Linked DNA regions of Homo sapiens: region 1 is linked to region 2. Evidence: promoter capture Hi-C in 16 types of primary human blood cells and fetal thymus (Javierre and others, 2016). All regions are on one chromosome and are shown on one strand. Each heading gives the region's core, a stretch centred on a gene start or on the middle of the fragment in contact. The rest is flanking DNA. Distances are from core to core; before and after follow the strand shown. Region 1 holds the start of GAS5 (growth arrest specific 5). Region 2 overlaps RABGAP1L (RAB GTPase activating protein 1 like).

Region 1 (4,590 bases), core at 399-2,898, 870 kb after region 2:
GTTATAGGGCTGTGAAGCAAACTCTAGGAAAAATCCCACAGCTGTGCCAGGATTCAACCAAGATGCAGAGAATGTGAAGTTCAGTTGTCAAAATTAGGAAAGCTGGGTAAATCTGCCAAATTCGAAGTTGGCAATTCCGAGGTGGTGATGAATACTTCCATCCTGAAACTTAGTTCTCCAGATCCGATGAAAAAATACAGCATTTACCAAGTATGCCAACATTTTTCCATTAAAATATTTTTAAAAAATGGCTGAAACACTAAACCTGAAGCTGTATACAAGATAGTTGAAAGTACAGTTTCAACTACTGAAAATAGTTTGTATAAATCCGAACAGGAAGACATTTACTTAAGCCCAATGTGCGTTCACTTATCTATATATTACATAGTTACACCACACCTGAAACTTCAGGAACTTACTCTGCCAAGCTCACAGTACTGCCCCGCATTAACAACACACTTATTAAATAGGGAAGTGTATACACTGTTTTCAACAATCAACTTTAGCCAATCTGACCTTTTTCCAAAGCGTTATTGTTTGTTTTGAAACTTTTAATCCAATAAGAGCCTCTGTCGATGCCATCATGAATTCAGATGTGTTTATTTTGGAGCCTACACCAGCGCCTTTTTTGTTTGCTCTTTCCGGCAATTCCCCAGTGAGGAAGCCCCTGGAGGAAAGTCTTTCGCTACCGTCGGCACTGGAGGGGTGAGAGCTGTAAAAGGGAGAATTGGGAACGGCATGGGGTTGGCCACTCCAGCACTTGAGCAGCTTTCTTCTGCGTTAGGAAGCCTGGGGAGAGGGGAACTGGCTAAAGGGCAAAATGTCACTGAGGAACTTCGGAGAAGATGGGGACAAGGCGTCGGGCGGGGGAGCCAGCGCTCAGGTGAGAACTAGGAAGGGGGCGGCGCCCAGGGACCGGCTCCAGGCGGCGGCGGGCGGGGAGCTGCCAGGAGGTGGGTGTGCGTATCTGGGTGTGTCCCGGCTGCGGTGGGGGAGGGGGCCGCCCTTCCCGGGGTCCTGAGGGAGGGGCCCCGCGAGGGGGCGGGTCCGGCAGATCAGCCCGGCCGGGGGCCAAGGGGGTGGAAGGTCGCCCGGTGCCTGGAGGCGGGGTGAAGGAAAGTAGCTGAGCGCCCCAGGAGCGCGCTGCGGCGGAGGGCGGGCGAGGTGACCCCGGTGCAGGGAAGTGGCACTGGGGTGTGGGGCCCGAGTCCAGTCAAGGAGCAGCACCTACCTCCGGGGGTGGAAATGGGCCGGAATGGGCCGGAACACCGTCCCGGAAGTGAAATCCCCCACCCCCTCCCACGGAGCGGGCGACGTGCCGGAAGGAAATCACTCAGCCTTACACCGCCCCCCCTTCCCCCATCCCCAGAGCTTTCCTTGCCTCGCGCCCCCTCCCCTCTCTGCTCTTCCTCCTCAGTCGGGAGGAGGGCGGGAGCACGGCATCACGTGGACGGTCATGTCTCTGCCCACAATGGCGAGGAAGGGCGGGGAAAAGGGGCGGACTTAAGGGGTGGGAAGAAGGTGATACTGGATGAGAGGAAGATTGAGGGAGGTTAGGGGGAGGAGCCGAAGCGGACGCTGCCGGGAGCGTGCGTCGTGACGTCATCAAAAGAACTCTTATATACAGGAGCCCAGGCACCATACTGTCTTTTCGAGGTAGGAGTCGACTCCTGTGAGGTATGTTTTATCTTTGCGAATGTTGCGGGTTTTGGGGCGCTCCAGCCTTTGTCTGCTAAGGTCACCCTGAATTGACTGGGACTTCTAAGCCAGTCGCGCGCCTTTGCAGGGCCTACAAGTTGAGGATGGTGGGGGATTGCACATATGGTGCATGCGTGACCTAAGCTGCGACTATGTTAGAGTAGAACTGCGGAGAAGCCTCGGCTCTCGTGCCCTGCCTCTGATGAAGCCTGTGTTGGTAGGGACATCTGAGAGTAATGATGAATGCCAACCGCTCTGATGGTGGCACATGCCGAGTCACCCGAGTAAGCTATTGTTAAGGGCCGTGACCCGAGCCTCCATCAGCCGTCCGCTCTCATGAAAGGCTGTCGGTGGTAGTCCACGTGCTTAAGTGCCTGCATTCCGCAGTGTCACCAATATTTCCATTAGTGTTTCTTTTTTCTTTTTTGAGACCGAGCCTCGTTCTGTCACCCAGGCTGGAATGCAGTGGCTCGACATCGGTTAATGGCAACCTCCGCGTCCCGAGTTAAGCAGTTCTGCCTCAGCCTCCCAAGTAACTGGGACTACAGGCGCGCGCCACCATGCTAGGCTTTTATATTTTTAGTAGAGACGGGGTTTCACCATGTTGGCGAGACTGGTCTTGAACTCCTGACCTCAGGTGATCCACCAGCCGTGGTCCCCCAACATACTGGGATTACAAGCCGTGAGCCACCGCGCCCGGCCGCCATCGGTGGTTCTTAACTGCGGGTGCAGTGCTTCTTTGTAACATTAAGTGTATCCTTTACCTGTCGCTAGATAATGAATGGTATGTTACCTGCATCATTGGTTTAAAAAGACGAACCGTTTTTTTAAAGAACACTCTTTAAAAAAAAGAACCGTGGAACAATGAATTAAAATCTGTACCTGATCTCTTTAGGTATGGTGCTGGGTGCAGATGCAGTGTGGCTCTGGATAGCACCTTATGGACAGGTAAGAATTGGGGAAAGTATGGTGGGAAGAATGAAATCTAAGAGGTGGTCTCAGCCTGTGATGCTTTAAGAGTAGTGGACAGAAGGGATTTCTGAAATTCTATTCTGAGGCTTTAATGTTAACAGCATTTATATTTAACGTGACTGCTGTGAGGTTCATTCTCACTGTTTTGCTTGCATCTTTTTGTTTTCTAGTTGTGTCCCCAAGGAAGGATGAGAATAGCTACTGAAGTAAGTTGAAAATTCCCTCTCAAAAAGGTTTAAAGCCATTGGATGTGCCACAATGATGACAGTTTATTTGCTACTCTTGAGTGCTAGAATGATGAGGATCTTAACCACCATTATCTTAACTGAGGCACCCAAAATGGTGAGTTGGGGAACATAGAGAGTACACCTAAGTTCACATGAAGTTGTTTCTTCCCAGGTCCTAAAGAGCAAGCCTAACTCAAGCCATTGGCACACAGGTGAGACACCTCTATTTTGTACTTCTCACTTTTAAGGGATTAGAAAATAGCCAAAGCAATGATGATTATCTATGTTAGTGCTTCTCTCCCCTCTTTTCAAATGAGAATTTTGCTCTCATATTGATACTAAGTTTAATACTGAAGAAAATGTGAAAACAGATACTATGATGGTTGCATAGTTCAGCAGATTTAATCATGAAGAGATGTACTATCTGTCTGATGTATCTGGGGTAGTTGTGGTTTGCTGTTAATGGTTAAGCAGTGTACCACCAATCTACCATTAAAATATTTTTTGCTGACAATTTTGTATTAAAATTACAGGCATTAGACAGAAAGCTGGAAGTTGAAATGGTAAGTGAAACTGTATCCAAGTAAGCAGGTAACTGGGCAAACTTCCTACGGCACAAATGGCTTTTTAGTTACCTCCTAGTGCTGAATGCATTAAATAAATGGCGGATTCTTGTCTTGTTATGATTAATAAGAAAGTTTGTAAATGCAGCCTGGATGATGATAAGCAAATGCTGACTGAACATGAAGGTCTTAATTAGCTCTAACTGACTAAAGGCATTTGTTAGTTTTGGCAGGGGGTGAACACTCATCTGTGGCTATTCTAAGACCACTCTTATTTCTTAGGTGGAGTCCAACTTGCCTGGACCAGCTTAATGGTTCTGGTAAGTATTAATGAAAACAGTAGATAGACTTAATGAAAATGCTGATGGTGATATGCTTACTGCTGAGCTAATGGCTTAAGGCTTGGCTGATGAATACTGACTGTATTTTCCTTGAGCATGTCTGGAACAGTGTTTATGTGTTTTCCTTGAGCATGTTTGGAACGGGGTTTGTGTAATGATGTTGATCAAATGTCTGACCTGAAATGAGCATGTAGACAAAGGTAACACTGAAGAACCCTGTGACAGACAACTTTGAAAAGAGTTTAATGATGTTTAGCATTTTAATGGAAGTCCTCATTTGTATTCCAGCTCCTGGTAACGTTTTTATCCATGGATGACTTGCTTGGGTAAGGACATGAAGACAGTTCCTGTCATACCTTTTAAAGGTACATGTTTTATTGATGTTAACGTTAATTGATTGAGCTACTGTTAGTGATGATTTTAAAATTAAAGCAGATGGGAATCTCTCTGAGAAAGAAAATGGAGATTAATCTTAAACTGAAACAGTAGTTGGGAAATCTTTTAGAAATCCACCTATTACTACCTATTGGTAAAGGAGATTAAATTTCTACAGGTATGGAGAGTCGGCTTGACTACACTGTGTGGAGCAAGTTTTAAAGAAGCAAAGGTATAGCAGTTCCAAGTATTTTTTTTTTTTTTTTAGACAAGAGTCTAGCTCTTGCCCAGAATGGAGTGCAGCGGCACTATCAGTTCACTGCAACCTCTGCCTCCCAGGTTCAAGGAATTCTCCTGCCTCAGCCTCTTGAGTAGCTGGGATTACAGGCATGTGACACCATGCCTGGCTAATTT
Region 2 (5,144 bases), core at 501-3,000:
TGACATAGGGGGTTTGTTGAACAAGGAAAGAAATTTTTAGAGGTTTGTGACATCTGAATTAGATAAAACTTTCAGAAACAAGGCAGGCAAAATGAGATAAGGAAATCAAATTAGAGGTTTTAACATGTGTTTCAAACTGACCCAATAGTTCAATAGATAGTTTTTTGGATAAACATAGAAATTGACGTTTTTGGTCTTGAAGCTTGAACCTTAACATTTGTTTTATCGGATTCCTTACTCAACAAAGGACCTTCAGGTCTCTCAAAAAAAAGTATGGAAGAACTGGAACTCACCAGATCACCATATCCAGATAATGAGATGAGGGCCCCTCATTCACCATAATTGCTTCCTTACCCCTCTCTAGTTCCTGTTTCTTACATATTGCTATATCTCTTCCCTGCTATATAAGTCCCTAGTTTCAGTTTGTCAGGGAGATGGATTTGAGACTGAGCTCCCATCTCATCTCGTCTGCTGCAGCCCCCAATTAAAGCCTTCTTCCTTGGCAATAATCATCATCTTAGTCATTGGCTTTCTGTGCTGTGAGCAGCAGGACCTAGACTGAACCCCTGGTGTTGTGGTAACATATTCATCATATGTCAAGCATTTTGAGGACATTTACAAAGATGGATAAGTCATCCCTACACTCAGAGGACTCCCAGATTAGGATAGCAGATAAAAATATAAACAGATAACACACCACCTAGGGAATGATAGGGAGGTATGACCTGAACATTAGAGCACTGAAGTATTGCTATAAAGTCCCTAAACACATGTTCCATTGGCCATTGAATACTGGCATTCACCTTTCTGTTCTTCTCAAATTCTCTTAAGTCATGATACACATCGGATTATATTGTTTTACAGTTATAGTTATCAGTCAACCATCCCAGGCTGCAGGGGTGCTTTTGATACTCTTCATAATGATACAGGACTTCTTATCAGCTACTATTAGCTGATCTTGACCTTCTCCTTCCTCCAGGCTTCTGCCAGTTTTCCATTAACCCAATCCATCCAGAAATCTTTTGTTAGAGTTCTTGTGCTCATACCACTTTTCTTTCTTCCTTTTTCTTTGAAATGAAGTCTTGCTCTGTCGCTTAGGCTGGAGTGCAGTGGCGCGATCTCAGCTCACTGCAACCTCCGCCTCCTGGGCTTAAGCAAATCTCCTGCCTCAGCCTCCCGAGTAGCTGGGATTACAGGTGTGCGCCACTACACTCAACTAATTTTTGTATTTTTAGTAGAGATGGGTTTCACCACATTAGTTAGGCTGGTCTCGAACTCCTGACCTCAAGTGATCCACCTGCCTTGGCCTCCTAAAGTGCTGGGATTACAAGCTGAGCCACCGCATCTGGCCCCCTTTTCTTTCTTCTTCTTCTTTCCTCCTCCTCCCCCTCCCCCTCCTCCTCTTCTTCTTCTTTCCTCCTCCTCCCCCTCCCTCTCCTCTTCCTCTTCTTCTTTCTTCCTCCTCCCCCTCCCCCTCCTCCTCTTCTTCTTCTTTCCTCCTCCTCCCCCCTCCCCCTCCTCTTCCTCTTCTTCTTCTTCTTTTTTTTTTGAGACAGGGTCTTGCTCTGTCACCCAGGCTGGAGCATAGTAGTGCTATCATGGCTCACCACAGCCTCAACCTTCCAGGCTCAAGCAATCCTCCCACCTCAGCCTCCCAAGTAGCTGGGTCTATAGGCGCATGCCACCATGCCTGGCTAATTTTTCTACTTTTTTTTTTTTTTTTTTTTTTTTTGTAGAAATAGGCTTTTGCCATGTTGCCCAGGCTGGTCTCAAACTCCCCACTTAAAAAAAAAATCCTTAAAAATGCCACAACATGGTATAAAAGTAGCCACATAGACCAGTAGAACAAAACAGAGAACTCAGAAATAAAGACACATAGTTACAGCCAACTGATCTTCAACAAAGCCAACAAGAATTTATACTGGGGGCCGGGTACAGTGGCTCACACCTGTAATCCCAACACTTTGGAAGGCTGAGGCAGGAGGATTGCTTGAACCCAGGAGTTCAAAACCAGCCTAGGCAACAGAGTGAGACCCCATCTCTACAAAAAATAAAACACCAGTCAGGTGTGGCAGCAAATGCCTGTAGTCTGAGCTACTTGGGAGGGTGAGGCAGGGGGATCATCTGGGCCCATGAGGTTGAGGCCACAGTGAGCAGTGATCATGCCACTGCACTCCAGCCTGGGTGACAAGGCAAGACTCTGTCTCAAAAAAACACAAAAACAAACAACAAAAACTTACACTGGGGAAAGGACAATCTCTTCAATAAACGGTGCTGGGAAAATTGTATAGCCATGCAGAAGAATGTAACTGGACCATTATCTCACCATATACAAAAATGAACTCAAAGTAGATTAAAGACTTAAAAGTAAAACCTGATACTATAGAAATATTAGAAGAAAAAATCTAGGGAACCCTCTCCTGGTTGTTGGTTTAGGCAAAGAATTTGTTACAAAGGCCTCAAAAGATCAGGCAACAAAACCAAAAATAAGTGATTGGGAATTAATTAAACTAAAAAGCTCCCACACACAAAAAAAAAAAAACAAAACAAAAAAATCAACAGAGTGAAGAGACAACCTGCAGAATGGGATAAAATATTTGCAAATTATTTATCCAACAGGAACTAATATATAGAACAGATAAGGAACTCAACTCAACAGGAAAAAAACAAATAATCCCATTCATACTTGGGCAAAGTATATGAATAGCCATTTCTCAAAAAAATAAATACAAACAGCCAACAGGTATATGAAAAAATGTTCAACCTCATGAATCATCAGAGAAATGCAAATCAAAACCACAATGAGATAGCATACCTCAGCCAGAATCCCTATTATTAAAAAAGACAGATGTTGACAAGAAAGTGGAGAAAAGGGAACTCATATACACTGTTGGTGGGAATGTAAACTAGTACAGCCACTATGGAAAACAGTATGGAGATTTCTCAAAAAAATAAAAATATAATTACCATTTGATCCAGCAATGCCACTACTGGGAATCGACTCAAAGAAAAAGAAGTCAATATATCAAAGAACTCACATATATACAGTTAGGAGGCTTTAAAACACTCAAGAAGTGGTATGTAATTTTGCCTGGAAACAGCTGATGAATTGAGCAAGAGGCTGTACCGAGACTGACACACCAGGAAATGCTATGCATAGTAAACTTTCATCCCTCCAAGGGGTGAAGTCCTAGGTTTATATCATGTTGGGAAACCAGTAATGAGTGTATTCATCTTTGGGGACCCTTTCTCTTCTGTCCTCATCCATTTATATATAGGTAAATGTTAGTGAAGCTTAAACACTAGGGAAAGCAGAGACAGAAGTGATTTAAGAGAATAACATTGAAAAAGAGTACACAAGAGAGGGTTTGTAAAGTTATATAAACGACTCCACTGCTACCAACCATGTCTCTATGAAGATGTAAGAAGGATGTTACTAATTATAGGAACTCACAATTTTAAAAAATCACCAGCAGGAGCAACTCCACCCTTTCCTCTACCTTTTCCCCCTATCACCTAGAGACACTAGCAGCCTGGTACACATAAAAATACAGAGTGAACTTTAAGAATCATAATAATATACCCTGAGGATCGCTAAGGAGCCTAAGTTTCTTTCTGCCACAGGGGATCTAGCATCTTTCTGCCAAGAAGTACAAAAGACTAAACATACCACTTCACAGTAGTATATTGCGTAGTAAATCTTAATTGCTATGCCACCATCTGTATAACACTTTACTGCAAAGCACTTTTGAGTATATAGTTTCATTCAACTGTAAAAATATTAATCCGGCATATAGGCCATTATTAATTACCTCCATTTTACAATGCAAGCTTAAATATGTTAGATGATTTACCTGAGTTCACAGAATTAAGACTGGAATGACAAGTTTCCTGATTATAATTCAGTTCTCTTTCCATTAGACCATTGGCTCTCAACCATGGCTGCTTATTAAAATCACCTGGGGAGCTTTCATAACACACAGAGGCAGGAGATCCATCTTAGGTCAAATAAATAGAAATTTCTCAGGAGTAGAATGTGGTCACTTGTATTTTTAAGAACTTCCAGGAGTTTCTAGTATGAAACCAGACTGAGAACTGAGCATTACCAAGTTTTCAAGCAATCATGATAATTTAAGAGCATAGTTTTCCTATTTGCACTTATCCATCTATACATCAGGGATATGTAAAATCTACAACTTCTAACCAGTGAATCATAATTATCAACTTTTTTAGAAAGCACAAATAAGCTTCTAGTATATTTTCAGTTAAGTAATTTATCTAGCAAACCATTTTCTATTAGTAATTAGCTTTTATGGAACAAAATATCCACAACTTTGGGTACTAAAAGTATATCTAGTCATATTTAACTGTAAAATTTATTTAAACCGTAAAATGGATGAGAGTGCTTGTTCCTTTATTAGGAGCCAAGCAAGAGAAAGGTACCTATCTAATGGAGGCAGATAATTAAATCACTCATGCTGAAAGTTCTTTCCCAAGTAACCCTGTCCTCACATCAAGCAGTTATACTAGAAATCACAGATCTTCCTGCCATAGTGAGGAGGAGATGTCTCCATTTAAAAAAAGATGGAAGAATTAGTTTAGTTAATTGCTCTGAGATCTACTAAATGACAAAACAAAAACAATTTAAAAGTGAGAGCTACAAGGCAAAGAGACCTAATTAGCAAAGAAAATTGTAGCAACAGTAATATAGCGGTTGCTGCAAAAATTTTACAATTATGGGGAAAGGCTCTATAAGCCCTGTGAAATTCATTCCCATTTAAACATAGTATATTGAACCTAATATTAAACGGTCTGCAAGTTCACAATAGAAGTTCATTAATACTATACTATAAATCAAAAGCTTTAGAGCAGGAGTTAGAAGATCCATATCACAGTTTCATTTCTGCCACCAACTAGCTTAGTTAAGTGTCTCAACCTCCCCCATGTGTAAGATTCCTAAACAGTAAATTGAGGAGTACCAGTTAAGAATAACAAAAGAGATTTGTTAAAAGTTCAGATTCCTGGATCCCACCCTGGATAATTCTGATTCATTAAGTCTAAGACGGGTATTAACATCTACTGTATTTTAGTGCCACCCACCCCACTCTGCAGACCCTAGAAACCACTGATTTCTATATATTTTA

The links. Contacts are between HindIII fragments. The CHiCAGO score rates a contact against its expected background, and 5 or more counts as called.
Region 1: a contact is called between the fragment with the promoter of GAS5 here and a fragment that was not itself captured in region 2, in 1 of 17 cell types (neutrophils). The highest score is 11.7, in neutrophils.

Annotation. Positions count from the first base shown.
Region 1 is chr1:173,865,047-173,869,636 of GRCh38, reverse strand. GAS5 (growth arrest specific 5) reads left to right here and starts at 1,648. Exons shown (of 12, transcript NR_002578.4): 1 at 1,648-1,677; 2 at 2,594-2,646; 3 at 2,841-2,876; 4 at 3,070-3,109; 5 at 3,431-3,460; 6 at 3,743-3,780; 7 at 4,090-4,166; 8 at 4,355-4,408. It overlaps ZBTB37 (zinc finger and BTB domain containing 37), which reads right to left and starts at 1,257. Exons shown (of 5, transcript NM_001122770.3): 1 at 1,232-1,257; 2 at 517-712. SNORD75 (small nucleolar RNA, C/D box 75) reads left to right here and starts at 2,699; the gene lies at 2,699-2,758. SNORD74 (small nucleolar RNA, C/D box 74) reads left to right here and starts at 1,892; the gene lies at 1,892-1,963. It also overlaps SNORD79, SNORD78, SNORD44, SNORA103, SNORD77 and SNORD76. RefSeq lists an enhancer at 1-1,178 and a silencer at 813-1,222. The HindIII fragment of the contact is 5,638 bases long and covers 1-4,590 here.
Region 2 is chr1:174,738,444-174,743,587 of GRCh38, reverse strand. The region is part of intron 17 of RABGAP1L (RAB GTPase activating protein 1 like); the gene reads right to left. Among named protein-coding and RNA genes, the nearest start is that of RABGAP1L-AS1, 210 kb to the left of the region's middle. The HindIII fragment of the contact is 3,092 bases long and covers 205-3,296 here.